2 separate regions of the Homo sapiens genome follow, and region 2 is linked to region 1. Evidence: promoter capture Hi-C in 16 types of primary human blood cells and fetal thymus (Javierre and others, 2016). All regions are on one chromosome and are shown on one strand. Each heading gives the region's core, a stretch centred on a gene start or on the middle of the fragment in contact. The rest is flanking DNA. Distances are from core to core; before and after follow the strand shown.

What was found. The method cuts DNA at HindIII sites, captures the fragments that hold promoters and counts their contacts. A CHiCAGO score of 5 or more calls a contact.
Region 2: a fragment that was not itself captured here is called in contact with the fragment with the promoter of HRNR in region 1 in 2 of 17 cell types (total CD8 T cells and naive CD4 T cells); the score reaches 6.2 in total CD8 T cells.

Annotation. Positions count from the first base shown.
Region 1 is chr1:152,219,391-152,227,088 of GRCh38, forward strand. HRNR (hornerin) reads right to left here and starts at 4,803. Exons shown (of 3, transcript NM_001009931.3): 1 at 4,753-4,803; 2 at 3,726-3,888; 3 at 1-2,100. The coding sequence starts at 3,863. The region is part of intron 1 of CCDST (cervical cancer associated DHX9 suppressive transcript); the gene reads left to right. The HindIII fragment of the contact is 14,241 bases long and covers 1-7,649 here.
Region 2 is chr1:152,507,844-152,515,541 of GRCh38, forward strand. It overlaps LCE5A (late cornified envelope 5A), which reads left to right and starts at 2,960. Exons shown (of 2, transcript NM_178438.5): 1 at 2,960-3,155; 2 at 3,671-4,334. The coding sequence starts at 3,692. The coding sequence ends at 4,048. It overlaps CRCT1 (cysteine rich C-terminal 1), which reads left to right and starts at 6,639. Exons shown (of 2, transcript NM_019060.3): 1 at 6,639-6,709; 2 at 7,519-7,698. The coding sequence starts at 7,541. The HindIII fragment of the contact is 208 bases long and covers 4,319-4,526 here.

The sequences.
Region 1 (7,698 bases), core at 3,553-6,052:
TGAGCTAGATCCGTGTTGTTCACTCCTAGATGACTGTCCTGACCTAGAGCCGTGTTTTCTGTAGCCGGAGGAGTGACTTGAGCCAGATCCATGCTGACTGTAACCAGAGGACTGCCCTGAGCCAGACTTGTGACCAAAGCCGGAAGACTGGCCTGAGACAGACCCATGTGGGCCATTGCTTGAAGACCAACCGGAGCCAGACCCATGTTGGCCGTAGCTGGAAGAGTGCCCAAAATCGGACCCATGTCGGCCGCGACTAGGAGACTGGCCAGATCCAGAGCCCTGTTGGCCATAGCGAGAAGACTGACTTGAGCCAGAGCCATGCTGACCGTGGCTGGAAGACTGACCTGAGGTAGCTCCATGTTGGCCACAGCTCGATGACTGTCCTGATGTAGAACCATGTTGCCCATGGGTAGAGGAATGACCCGAGCTAGATCCGTGTTGACCGTAGCCAGAGGACTGTCCTGAGCGAGACTCTTGGTGACCTAAGCCAGAAGAGTGACCGGAGCCAGACTCATATGGGCCACGGCTTGAAGACCTCCCTGAGCCATACCCATGTGGGCCATAGCTGGAAGACTGCCTGGAACCAGACTCATGTCGGCCACGGCTAGGGCTAGGAGACTGGCCAGATCCAGACCCATGTCGGCTGTGTCCCAAAGATTGACGGGAGCCAGACCCATGCTGACCATAGCTGGAAGATGAACCTGCACTAGATCCTTGTCGTTCACCCCTAGATGACTGTCCTGACCTAGAGCCGTGTTGTCCGTGGCCGGAGGAGTGACCTGAGCCAGATCCATGCTGAGTGTAACCAGAGGAATGCTCTGAGCTAGACTCGTGGTGACCAAAGCCAGAAGAGTAGCCTGAACCAGACACATATGGGCCACTGCTGGAAGATCGACCAAAGCCAGTCCCATGTTGGCCGGAGCTGGGAGACTGCCCTGACCCAGACCCACGCTGGCCGTGGCCTGGAGACTGGCCAGATCCAGAGCTGTGTTGGCCGCGGCCTGAAGAGTGACGGGAGGCAGACTCATGCTGACCATAGCTGGAAGACTGACGTGAGCTGGAGCCATGTTGGCCAGAGCTTGATGCCTGCCCTGACGTAGATCCATGTTGTCCCTGGCTAGAGGAGTGACCTGAGCCAGAACCATGCTTACTATAGCCAGAGGACTGTCCTGAGCCAGACTCATGTTGCCCAAAGCCAGAAGTCTGGCCTGAGCCAGACTCATAATGGCCACGGCTGTAAGAGTAACTTGAGCCAGACCCGTGTTGGCCGTGGCTGGAGGAGTGCCCCGAACCGGACCCATGTCGGACGTGGCTAGGAGACTGGCGAGATCCAGACCCTTGTCGGCCGTGGCCCAAAGACTGACGGGAACCAGACCCATGCTGACCATAGCTGGAAGACGAACCTGAGCTAGATCTGTGTCGTTCACCCCTAGATGACTGTCCTGACCTAGAGCCGTGTTGTCCGTAGCCAGAGGAGTGACCTGAGCCAGATCCATGCTGACTGTAACCAGAGGACTGCCCTGAGCTAGACTTGTGTTGACTAAAGCCAGAAGACTGGCCTGAGCCAGACCCATGTGTGTCATTGCTGGAAGACTGTCCGGAGCCAGAGCCGTGTTGGCCATAGTTGGGAGACTGCCCTGACCCAGACCCACATTGGCCGCGGCCTGAAGACTGATGGGAGTCGGAGTTTTGCTCACCATAGCTGGAAGACTGACCTGAGTAGGAGTTATGTTGGCCAGAAAAGTCTCTTTGAAAACTCAGTCTTCTGGATATGGATTCAGTCCCAGGTTTAAGACTTCCTCTGACGTTTCTGGAATAGGAATCATTCTCTCCTGCACTCCAACTTGAATGACTAAAAGAGGATTCTTGCCGTTTGTTCTCCTCTTTTTCAGTTTCTTCTTGTTCCTCTTGGTGCTGGTGAGTGTCATCTCTCAGCTTTGACCCTGAAACTTGGCAGTAATCTTTGCCAATGATTTTATTACGAGCCTGAACCAGCTTGAATATCATCAGAAGATACTCAGTAAAATCCACTTTCTTGTTATGGTCTCGATCCAGACTTTGCAAGATGATATCCACAGTATCTGGATCGTTTGGATTCTGTATAAGAGAAAGGTACAAAGAGTAGCTCTGTTAGTATGGACAATACATCTGGCTAACGAACTGAAGGAAAGATGTGAAAATGTAAATGTTTGGGTTATTTATATGGAACTCATTCACACAGTCCTTTAGGCTGCATTTCTGTATCCTGAGCAGAAAGAGAAAAAGGAATATGGAATGAATAATGTGGTGGGAAACAGCTAGAATAGGATGCAACTGGAAGATGAAAGGAAACAAGAGGGCTGATTATTTTTGGTAAAGAATGGGTCAAATATGAATGATTAGCTAATTTATAAGTAATATGTTTTTATACCTACATTAATTATATCAACTTTATTTATCCAATTAAATTAACTAGCTACTTAATTTACTCACTGAACAAAGATTTATTATTTTACTAGTTGCCTACCATTATGTCATATGAGAGTATAAAGAAGTGAACAAGTTTGCTTCCTGAAAAAAAATGGAATTTAAAGTTTAGTTGGCCAGATATACAAACTTAAAATTATAATTTATTGTGGTAAGGTTTCTACAAGAGTACATCAGAGAGGAAACATTGGGGGTCCTAGAAAGGTTAATGAGAGGAAATGATGCCTTTTGAAGGATGGATTAGGATTAGCCAAATGAAGAAGTAGGAAGAGAAAGAGAAGGGGAAAAGATTGTTCTAGGCAGAGGGAATTATATGAACAAAGGGCTAGAGGTGAGAGAAGTTATGGAGCATTCAAGGAACTGAAGGAAATTCAGGATTGCTAGATTTAGAGTTTGAAGAGTCAAGAAATGTGGATAGAGAGACAAATAGGGACTAGATTATGACTTTTAAGTTATGTTAAGGAACTTTGTACTTCATTTTAAGAGCAATTGGGAACTATTGAAGGATTTTTAGCTGAGGAGTGAAATGATTATATTTGCATCCAATGCTGAGAGTAGAAGTAGTAGGTGGCCTGAACCAGAGGACTAATAATAGTGATGAAGAGAAATGGGTTGTTTTGAGAGATTATTGATGAGTTAGATGGAGGTTAGAAGGTAGTGGTGTCTGCTGAGAGAGAGACAATAAAAAATGACACCAGGTTTTTGCTTTGGGCAAAAAGATGAAGGAAAAAGGTTAGTGGGGAAGATTATGAGATTCATAGCTGACACACTGAATATCTGACATCTGATATCTGAATATCATATCTGAAATCCACAGAAATCCAAATTTAAGGAATTGAAACTCAGGAGTCTGATATAAGGTCCCAAATATCTAAGCTATCAAATCTAGACCTGACAGTTTTAAGGTGGTGGACACATTCTTTTGTGATTCAGGAGTAAATGCCAATTTCCTGAACTCAGAAATCTACTTCACAGTTTTTCTGAGGACTGTCTGGGTTTGTAGGAATTAGTCACTTAGATAGGACATTATTTAACCTGTGGGTTTTGTTTGTTGTTTAGTAAGGTCACTTCCGTTAGTTATGCTATGGAAACCATCACGGATCTGCTTTTGACCTTATCTCAAACTTTTACCAAACCCTGTTCTCTCTCACCAAGTAAGGACAATCCTCTAGGATGTTTGACATATGTGACAAGAAGGTGGAAAGGGATAAAGAAGAAAATTCCTGCATAACTCCATCCTGGCGTGGAGTTCTTACCTTCAGAATTTGATGAAACTCATTTTCCAGAAGTTCTTTCAGCTCTGCCTTGTTCAACGTATCATACTCCCCATGCTGGGTGGCATATTGGTAGAAAACATCGATGACAGTGATGACGCCTTGTAGGAGTTTAGGCATTTTTTTTTTTGCAAGTTTGAGTAACCTAAAGGGAGGAAAAAGAGAGACCAACCCCTTACTATTCTTATTTCTTGTTTAAACACATAAATAGTTCTAATTATTTATAATAATTGTTCAGAATTAGTCAGTCATGATTAAATTCATTCTGTTGTAATCAAGAACCAATTCAGAGTTGAATGACTTGTTCAAGCCATGTAGCAAGAGAGTGATGAAATTAGGAATATAATCCATAGGTCTTATTTCCATTCCTGAATGAATGTAGGAAAAATGACTTTCTGTTTTTGGCTTCCTGCCATTACCAGGGATAATATTAGCTTTGTTCTGGAGCTGTAGAAGTCCTGAGTGTTCCACTTCATCTGCTTCCTCTTTCTAGGTTCGAAGCATACTGTGGGCATAGGTCCATCATCTACATGACATGCCTTACTCAACCTAAGGAGCATCAATGGCTGAACTGAACTCTCAAGACTTCTAGGTCAGAGAAAATAGACAATGTGAGCAAAGCCAACAAGCCTAGGTGATATGAAGCTAAGGGTAACTGCTATTAGATCCAGCTTCTGTTCTCATTCTCCAAGCAGGAAGTGACCCTCAGACCTTATTACACAATAGAGAGGAAAAGCTCAGTTGTAAAGAAGGCAACCTGCCTGTGGATAATTAGAACCCCATGATATCCATGTTATAAGGGAAGCGACCTCAAAGAAAGGAGATAATATACATAGTCCTAGTCTTTGTTTCATTTTTCTTTTCAGTAAATTTAAACTTATACCAAAGTTCCCCAGAGTATACTAAAAAGAAGCCTTGTATCTAGTGCCTCTTTGCCTTAGAGCACATCCTGGACTTTCATAATTTATAGCCCTAAGTACCCTTGAGCGGAGTTGAACTGCTCACTTACCTAGCTCACCAGAGGAACAAGTAGGGTAGAGACAGAAACAGCTTTCAGGGTGCTGCGAGTTGGGCAGAGTGGCCTTTTTATAGAGGGAATAATGGTCCCTCTTAGGGAGGAGTTGCTAATTTTGAGATGTCCTAATTTACTCCTAAACAAGCCCATCTCCACCTCTATCTCCACCTCCCAGGTGTTTACCTTCTTCCTGACTTCCTTACAGGTTCACCTAAGATTGCATTAGCAGTTCCCAAATCTGGGCTACTCTCAGCCCCACCTGCCAAAGGGTCAGGACACTGCAGAAAGGCCTGTTTTTGTATTCATCAAACTATCTAGCACAATATATTGACAACAAATTGTGTGGATTTTAATAGAAGTTGAATGGAGTGTGTGCAGGGACATCATGGCCCAAATGTCAAAAAATCATGGAAATTGATGATTAAAAGGACTGTAAAGATCATCTAGTCAAACTCTCCCATTCTAAGCTAAATGTTCTTAAATGGTATTCCAGCCAAAGTGTCATCTTTGGTATTGTTATTACCTTTTGAATTGGATAATGGCTCCAGGCCATCCTTTAACTCATTAAGTACCTCAATTTACCAGACCCCTTATTGGCCATTCATCACCATAGCTTTCATTTCAAACACCATATAACCTTAGGAAGAAATGCGTGCTTGTTAGCATGGTATCCATGGTTCCTCATGATCTGGGCTGTGGCTTTTTTCCAGCTCCATTTCTCCCCTCCATATTTCTCTTTGTACTCCAACAGTAATTAACTAGTAATATTTCAAACTTCCTCAATATACCATGGGATATGTTATTTCATATTTTTTCTTAGAATGTCTTTCCTCATTGTCTGCCTAGTGAACTAATTATTCTTCAAAATCCAATTTAGGCTTCCCATAGAAAATCTTTCCTGAATTACTCAAGAGGGAGTTGTAATTGTGTACCTTATTCATATTTATTGTTGTATCAATCATACTATATTGTAATCTTTAAAAATTGTTTTACTATACAATTATTGTTTAATATAAAAATTAGAAAATATTGATAAGCAAATAAGATAAAATCAAAATACCTTTAAAGCCACTAGCCAAAAATAACTACTGTTAGTTATTTGTTGTATATCCTTGCCTTTCACAAACACACACATTCACACACAGACACACACATTTGTCTATGGGCTTATTTCATTTCTAGGCTATGAGCTCCTTGAGAATAAGGAATGGACATTATTTATCCTTATGTCATTTGGAGACCTAGTATACTGCTTGTCACATAACGGTCTCCAATAAATGTCAGTTTGAATTCATTTGAAAGAGAAGCAAGGATCAAGACTATAGTCCTCTGCATTGGCCAACTTCCATCTTTTCACAGGAGGACTAGGGTCTGCCCTCTCTCTTGCCATCTTTGCCTCAGAGGACATGATTTTACCTGAATATAAACGGAATCTTAGCATTGAGAATCAATGAGTGGCTTTCTGCTTTTTTCTGAGGCCCTCGCTCTGCATTTCTTCCATTGTGAACATATAACACAAATTTCACTGAAGGTGTGTGAAGTTACATGGACTTAAAACTTGTGCAATATGGTCATCAGGATTTGAGAAGGTGTGGTAGCAACTGTTGGCAAGTGATAAATTACATGATTCCAAATTCAACTATTGTTAGGCTATGTGTTTTCTTTTAAGAATTGCCCAGAGGGCTGCAGAGTCAGTATCCATTCTGTAGCCGTGTTTCCTCTGGACATCTGATTGGGCCAGGTTTTCATGCTTCATCAGAACAATGACTTTTTAAAGGTGTGGCTGAGACTGTGGGAGTAAAGGGGGGTGGAATTTGCTGAGTGAAGACTGATTTCCTGCAGGAACCAGCTGTTGTCACGAAGGGAGGAGAGGGTTGTGAGAGAAGACTATTCCAGGTGAACGTGCTCTTGGGGCTAGTGTTCTCCTGAAATAGGGGCCAGCAAACTTTTTTTTTTGTAAAGGGCCAGATGGTACAAAATATTATCTCTGCAGGACAGATAGTTTTTGTTGCAACTACTCAACTCTGCTATTGTAGCATAAAAGCAGCCATAGATGATATGTAAACAAATGAGCATGGCTATGTTTCAGTAAAACTTATTTATCAATACTGATCTTTGAATGTCATATAATTTCACATATCATATATTTTTTCAACCGCTTACAAATGTAGAAAACCTTTTTATCCTGTAGGCTACACAAAAATGGATGACAAGCTAGCTATGAACTGCAGGCTGTAGTTTACCACTCTTTGCTCCTCTTCTGTATTTGCTTTTCAGGAAGATTCTCTGGGAGAGGAGGATCTGAGAGAAAAGAAGGGCTGAAAAGTGTGGGACATCAGAACCACTAACTCTTGCATGAGAGAACAAGAGTGAAGGTGAATTTGTAAATATCAGCATGTGTGGGGTGGTGGGGAAAGGGAACAGAACAAGGGACCTTTGGCTGCTCGTAAAAGGGAGATAAATTTTGATTTGATGTAAGGGAGAAATATTTAATATTTGCATTGACTGAAAATGCAGTGAGCTCTTTGTGAAGTAACTGAATTTATTGTCAAGTATCATATGAATAGTTTTTTACTATTAAAGAAAAAATTAATTCTTTCATTACGTTGTTTTCTGGATATGCTCACCAACTAGAATTTTGTTGGGCTTTTTTTCCTCGTTTGTATCATGAAAATAAGAAGCATATTACATATGCGTCTTGGTCTCTTCTCTCCCCATTGAGAATTACTTATTAAGAGTAGGACTAGATTATCACAAAAGTCACTTTCAAAACAGTTTCTTGTTTTTTTTAGAGTGTGTGCTCCATAGTAACAGAGTTGGACATGAAGATTCCTCCATCATGGGTTTGGTTAGTGGTTTTTCCACTTGGAGATGATAGGTTTCAGGAGAAAAGCTTTTCTATGGTATGTGCCATGTTCTAGGTTTTTGAGTGCCTTTCTC
Region 2 (7,698 bases), core at 3,173-5,672, 290 kb after region 1:
AACAAGGGGCATGATCTAAATCAGCAATTATCAATCCCAGTGGTGCAGCAGAGCCACTTGATGGACGTCTGGAGAATGTCAAAGCCTAGATCTCACCGGGGTTGAGAACCACCGGCTCTGAATGATGGCCAAGGTCCTTTCCACAACTATTCTATCATCCCATGAAATGTCTAGAATTTGTTAATGAAAATCTGGGTTTGGATTTGTTTGAGGCATTCATCTTGCTTGCTGAATAGTAAATTCAACTGAACAAGGAAATGAAAACTGAGCACCTGCTGCCTACAAGGCACTAAATTAGACCCCTTAGGGATTCCTGCACTAAAGACCTTACCATGTGGTCAGATAGGTGGGTCGTGTGCCCAAACAATTATAACTAAAAGGGGATGGACATTGTTCCTTTTAGAATTCACCAAACCCATGTTTTAAATGGGTAATTCCTTTAATTTTACTGGGATTCCCTTTCCAGAAATTCAGAGCCTGTGTTCTACCTTCTTGCTTATACTTCTCCACAAGGAGGGCAGAGACAGATCCGACGCCCCAACCCTGTGGTCTTTATCTAGGCCTGCCCTGAGTGCTGGAATTTAGAAGTGACACAGCATCAGTTTTCATTTTAAACATTTATTGAATGCTTACTATATGCCGGGCACTTTTACAAGAGTTTTAGGTATGTTAACTCAATTTAATGGCCCCATGAGATAAACACTACTTTTTTGACCATTTCACAGGCGAGGACAGTGAGGTGGAAAGCTCATATCACTTGTTCAAAGTCACACCACTGGTAAGTGGGGAGTTGGGATTCAAACCCAGAGACTGGATTTAGAACTCACGCTCCCAGCCGGGCACGGTGGCTCACACTTGTAATCCCAGCACTTTGGGAGGCCGAGGTGGGTGGATCACGAGGTCAGGAGATCAAGACCATCCTGGCTAACACAGTGAAACCCCGTCTCTACTAAAAATACAAAAAGTTAGCCGGGCGTGCGTGGTGGCAGGTGCCTGTAGTCCCAGCTACTTGGGAGGCTGAGGCAGAAGAATGGCGTGTATCCAGGTGGCAGAGCTTGCAGTGAGCAGAGATCGATCGCACCACTGCACTCGAGCCTGGGTGACAGAGCAAGACTCAGTCTCAAAAAAAAAAAAAAAGAACTCACGCTCCCAACCACTTATAAATAGATTCTGTGCCCTTCATGAAATGTTCTTATGGCTACCAAAAATAATGCTTCCAAACAACGAATAACATGGGAAATGTTGATGTTAAAATGTTAAGTGAAAAGTTAGTAAAGTAAACTCATGTAAGTACTATGAGAAAGACTATGTAAAATACAAACAAAACTCAAATAACAACAACAACAACAAAACCACTATATATAGAAAAAAATGACGGGAAGGAAAATAGCAAAATAGTAACCATATTTTAGGGATGGGATTATAGGTGATTTTAAAATTCTTCCTATTTTTTGGTGTTTTTAAATAATGAGTATGCTTTCTTTATAATCTCATTCCCTAGTGACAAGCAAATACTCTTAATATTTTGCTGTAAGAAAACATCGAGTCTAAGTTCTGATATCATAAAAATTAGTTTTGGTTTCAAAATTGGCAGGTCAGTAATTTGAAATTTAGCATATATTTTCTCATGGAAATAAGGATAGCCATAGTGATTAGTTTTTTCTTTTTTAAACTTGCAGTTCTAGGAACTGTGCTAAGAACTTCATCTGTATTTCTTTATTCAGTGGATTAGGAATGTTTTCAGCCCCCTTTTCCAGTGATGGTTAAGTAACTTGCCAGAGGTTGCACAGGTGGAGAGAGCAAGGGTGGGAACTGATGCTGGATGTCCCTCTCCAGGGTCTGTGTTATAACTGGGCTGATGCTTCTCACTGCAGCCCATTTCAAAGAGCATGGAGCTAAGGTACTGCCTTTTTCTCCCAGTCTTATTTTCTCTCACTGCAGCTTTCATTGTGAATATGCCATATTTTGGCCACCCTTTCCAGCTAAGTCAATTTTGATAACTATCCTGGGGACCCAACTTTCCCTCAGAATATTGTTTGCTGAGAAAATGTTTTGGATCCCACCATGGGCTTTTAAAACCTATATACTCCTCCTCTTCACCTCTCCATCCAAAGATTAATCTTCTCCTGAGGTCCTTCCCAGGTTGGATGCTCTTCTCTTATGAATGACCAGAACTGGTGCCTCACTTCTGGAAACCTCCAGATGAGTGGAGAGCTTTTGCTCCACCCTCAGTATACACCTGGTCTTTGCTGCCTCACCTCGAGCTGGCCAAGGGCACCTTCTTTAACACGAGTAAATAAGCCATTCCTAGACTTCTGCCCTTTTAAAGGCATTGTTAGTGCTGAATCGGTACTGTTTGTGAGCAGTTTTGGAGCATCAAATTCAGGCAAGGAGAGAAGCCCAACCACCCACACTGTCAGCATTAGATCTGCCTAAAATAACATCACTGAGATATCAAACCTTCCTTGTTCTGGTTATGGCATCATCTAGAAATGAAAAAAAAATCATGTTAGATTATTTGCTTGGGCCTACAATTTTATTTTGGATCTCTATTATTATTCTAAAAAGGGCCATTTAATTTCCATCTTGGGAATTTTCTCCTTCAGTTCCTATACCAAAGAGAAAACAGAACTTCTGTTCATTCCAGAGGTGTAGAGCCGTATTGGCCCAGCTCAGAAAATAGAAGGCATAGCAGAGCTGCCTGTGAGATAGATAGGTGCCATGTGCAATTCACAGAGCTCCCTCACCATCCTAGAGGCCTGCAGTTCTCAGGGGATCTTCCTGTGGGTTAATACTTGAGATGCTTATGCAGGGAGGAACTGGGTCCCTGGGATGCGAGGGGAGGGAGTCACCCATGCCTTTATGAAAGATGCTTCTAGCGTCCCGCACATGGTCTGCACCTCCTGATGCTAGGTCAGGACTGAATTGTATAAAAGGCAGAAGCTTCTGACAGCACCTCAGTCTACCTGTCTCCTGAGTGATCTGCTGCAGTGCCTGAACCAGGTAGAGTGCTTCTCAGGACCAGGATGAACTCTTGGTGCTGGTGTTTTGGGCAGAAAGAGCCCCTGGGTGGAGGTTGAGGCCATTCTTGAAGAAAGACAAGGATAAAGAAGGATTTTGGAGGGGAAGGTTCTTCTGGAAGGGGAGGGTGGAAGGTAGGTAAAAGGAATGAAGGACTGATGCCTTTCTGAAGTTCCAAGTTATTCATTTGAAAATATGGAGTTACTAGGTGGAAATCATTTGTATCATTCTTGTTACTGGTCTTGGGAGACTGGGTTTTTAAAATCTGGTTCATCTTAGGCCAGGAGTAGTGGCTCATGCCTGTAATCCCAGCACTTTGGGAGGCTGAGGTGGGCGGGTCAAGAGGTCAGGAGTTCGAGACTGACCAACATGCTGAAATCCCGTCTCTACTAAAAACACAAAAATTAGCTGGGTGTGGTGGTGCACACCTGTCTGAGGCAGGAGAATCACTTGAATCCGGGAGGTGGAGGTTGCAGTGAGCCGAGATAGCACCACTGCACTCCAGCCTGAGTGACAGAGTGAGACTCCATCCCAAATAATAATAATAATCATAATAATAAATTCTGGTCATCTTAGAGATAAAATCTTGTGAAATTATAGTTCAATTTTAAGGGCAAGGAAGTGACCTTGGGCTTGTATTGTCTTTCAGCTTTATTCAGCTTCTACAGAGATGTCCTGCCAGCAGAGCCAGCAGCAGTGCCAGCCTCCTCCCAAATGTACCCCTAAATGCCCTCCCAAGTGTACTCCTAAGTGTCCTCCCAAGTGTCCCCCAAAATGCCCTCCCCAGTGTTCAGCCCCATGCCCACCTCCAGTCTCTTCCTGCTGTGGTTCCAGCTCTGGGGGCTGCTGCAGCTCTGAGGGTGGTGGCTGCTGCCTGAGCCACCACAGGCCCCGCCAGTCCCTCCGACGCCGACCTCAGAGTTCCAGCTGCTGTGGCAGTGGCAGTGGCCAGCAGTCTGGGGGCTCCAGCTGCTGCCACAGCTCTGGGGGCTCTGGCTGCTGCCACAGCTCTGGAGGCTGCTGCTGACCTGGGCCATGAGGAGCACGGAGGAGAAGGACTGGCAGATCCCAGGTGCTGAAGATGTGTGTCAGCCTGAGGCTTCTTTTCTCTCATTTCCCATGGAAGGACTTCGGAAATGCCTTAAGTTCCCCTCTTTATCCTGCCCATGTTCACTCCATTGTAGGGTTGAAGTCTAGCTTGTGATATTTTCTGGCCTGGCTTTCCCTCTCAGACATAGCTCTTTGGAGAACTAGGTGTTGTAATTCAGTTATGAAGCTATTTTCTCTGTAACAATAAAGCTTTTTATTCCTGATATCACTGCCTCCTGATTTCATTGTTTGCCTCTCCCACTCCCTACCTGCTGCATCAAGCCATCTTCCCTTCCCTTCTCTTAAATGCAAGCGAACACTTTACAAACTTGTTTAGGAAGCACATTTTGGCAGTGAAGCTACTTAGGCCTCTGGAAAACAATATTTCCTTCTATGCACTGGATTCTGGAACTTTAAGCTTGAAGGAAAGAATAATGTCTGAGACCATTACGCCAGACACAAGATTGTATGAGGAGAGCCAGGAATGGGTTTGAAGAGAAGAGGATGGTTGTACTCAAAAGGTTCAGGTTCTGAGAGGGTTTCCTTCAAGCATGGGTCACAGTTTGAAAAATTGCTTGTCCCCATTCATGGGGAATAAGATTGCCTGAAGTGCTCATCCTGGGCTCTAATAAATGGACACTCTTTACTTTTCTGATTATTATAAGCTCAGGTGTTTCCATCAGTTGGCTAGAGGGAGAGCTGGGTGGGCAGTGAGTGAGTTTTGGAGGCAGATATGAAACGTCTGAGCACATTTTCCCTGCATGCTGAAATCCTGGATTTGAATCTGGGTAAAGAACTGAGAAAGACACCCTTCTTTGCAAAGACTGTCTCTATGTGGTTGGGACGTACGTGTGTGTGTGTGTGTGTGTGTGTGTGTGTGTGTGTGCAGTGAGAGGTATAAGAGTACAGGGGTTTTGGTCCCTGTGTTGGGTTTTCCAAGCAACATTTCTTTAGGAATGGGCTGGTTCCTTCAGGAGACACTCATAATGTACCTAGAAAAGATAACTAGAAAAGTTAATTCCAAATCAGCCTTTAATATAAAAGATAAACAATTGATGCCTCCTTTGATAAGAGTTAATAGCGATAAATAAAGTAAGCTGGTTTATGAGATCATAGGATGCCCACAGAATGAGTAGGCACTTGCCCAGATTATCTCCTTATACTGATTCCTACCAAACGTTCTTCATTCTTTTTTTTTTTTTTTAAAAGAACTTTGCCCATTTTCCCAGAGGAGATCCTGCCTCTGTCTTGTTATTTCATTACTTCCTTCTCTGTTCTAATATTGACTTTACTTTTTGGAATGTCTCACCTATACTCACCAACAGGTGCTCTAGGAACTGGCAACCTGTTAATCAGGCTCTAAATCCATGTTAAATGAAACTGGTATCTTTTGTGACTTATCTTTCCTCGCCTAGTCCCTTGAGCCACTCCCAGCTCACTCGCCCCCAAACCTGTCTCTCATCCTTAATTCCTGAATTCTTAGTCTTGGACTTCTGTTATAGTTCACATTCACAGTTGTGGGCAATTTGATTAAGAAGCAGTTCTGAAGTTGACTGCCAAAGTATCCTCCAATTCTTAAAAATTAGTTATTCTGAAAACACTATCTATCATGAACACTTTGGACCTTTGGAAAGAACTTTCTTTCTTTCTTTCTCTTTTTTTTCTTCTTTCCCTCCCTCCCTTCTTCCTTTCCCATTTTCTTTTGCACTGGGCAGTGGCCCTAGGGAGAACTTATCTTCAAAGGCAGATTGGTGGTTGGGGGTGGGATAAGAAGCAGGAGTCCCACAGGCTGACTAGCCTTTTTGCAATTGGGCCACTGTCCTGCACACATTTTTCTCTTTGTCATACCATGCTGTATTATGGGGATATGGCAACCTGACTACATTCACAACTTTTCTGGTCTTATGGTTCCTTAACTTTGCCTAGGTTTTTCTTCCTGTCTCCAGTGACAGAGAGAAATCACCCCTGGGGTTCCCAAAGGTGCATCCCCGTCATCATCTTCACTCACTGCATCTTGAAGCATATGGATGAAACCCAGCAGGCTTATCGCATAGCTTGTGGTCTGCCCTGGGGAGCCAAGGACCAAGAGCCAGAGAGATGAGAATCAAGATAAAAATAGGTGAACTACCACCTACCAAGTAGATGACTACATAGGAATGGATGTGTGGGCAAGTGGAGCCGTCTGTGTGTGTGTGTGTGTGTGTGTGTGTGTGTGTGTGTGTGTGTATTGAAGACAAGGGCAGGGGTTCCAGACCTCCCTGCATTTGAGCCCCATGCCCTCTCTTAGCATACACACAGCCTCCCAGGTACAAACAGTGCCCTGTTTGGAAAGTAAACATGCCATAGCAATCCTGGCACCTCTGTGAAGTGACTTAGATGCCCACATGCACCACCTACAATGCTACCTGAGTGATGAATGTCTCTGGGATGTGAGTGTCAGCTGAGCACGTCTGTTGGGAAATGGGCCCCTCCCAAGAGCCTGAACCTGAATACTTCTTATAAAAAGGTTCTCTGGCTGGACGCTGCTCAATCCACTGCCTAGCAGGTGGCCCATTCCAGTTGGAGAACGTAGTGAGTCTTTCAGTGGAGCCAGGGTCTGGTAAGTCTCCTAGCAGGGTCTGGGGGAGAGGGTGGGATGAGTTGAGGGCACAGGGGAGGAGCAAACAGAACACAGGCAGCAGATAGATGTGGAAGGGGTGTCCCGCAAGGCACCTACGCTTCTAGTGAGCCAACCTCTTAAGGTACTAATGAGGACATAAAGGCAACATAGGAGGTGGTTTTTGCAAGGGTACACAGCAAGTCCGCAGAAGAGCTGTGACTAGAACCCAGGTCTTTCAGCTCCCTGGATGGGGTTATTTATATTGGCACAACTCTCCTTTCCCACATGGTTGTGGGGCATGAGAGGCGTAGGCAAGAAAGAATGATCAGGACATGCTTCTGGCCTGTGGATTATTTAGACCCAGCAGGTGGGACCGCCTGTTGGACTTGGGTGTTTTCTAACTGATGGGGGTGTAGTAACTAGGAAGATACAGTCGAAGGTCGGTAGGAAAGTAAAATGAGGGACAAGAAAAAAGCCAAGTGGAGATTTTGGACTGGATCATACAGATAAGTTGCCGCAGTGTGCTGTTTATTTTCCACTGTGGAGAACTTGAGCAGTCTTCTTCTAGTCAGAGAAAATGGAAATGCATTGATTCATTGCATGGATTGTGTCCTGCTCTGAGCATGTTTAACTCACTGGAAACACCTGCTTGGATTTGCTTCTTTGCGTCCGCTCTTTCTGGGTGCTTTTCCCTCCTTGTCCCAGGCCAGGCTGACTTGTACACTAAGCCGAATCTCAAAAGCCCAGACAGAGTTCCATTGGTGGAAAGAAAAAGCCGGCTCGCCTTTGAAAGGCTGCCTTTCTTCCAGGTTTGTCGTGAGGAGCTCCGCGATGTCCTCTCAACAGAGCGCCGTTTCCGCCAAAGGCTTTTCCAAGGGGTCGTCCCAGGGCCCCGCTCCGTGTCCCGCCCCGGCGCCCACCCCGGCGCCCGCCTCCTCCTCCTCCTGCTGCGGCTCCGGCAGGGGCTGCTGCGGCGACTCAGGCTGCTG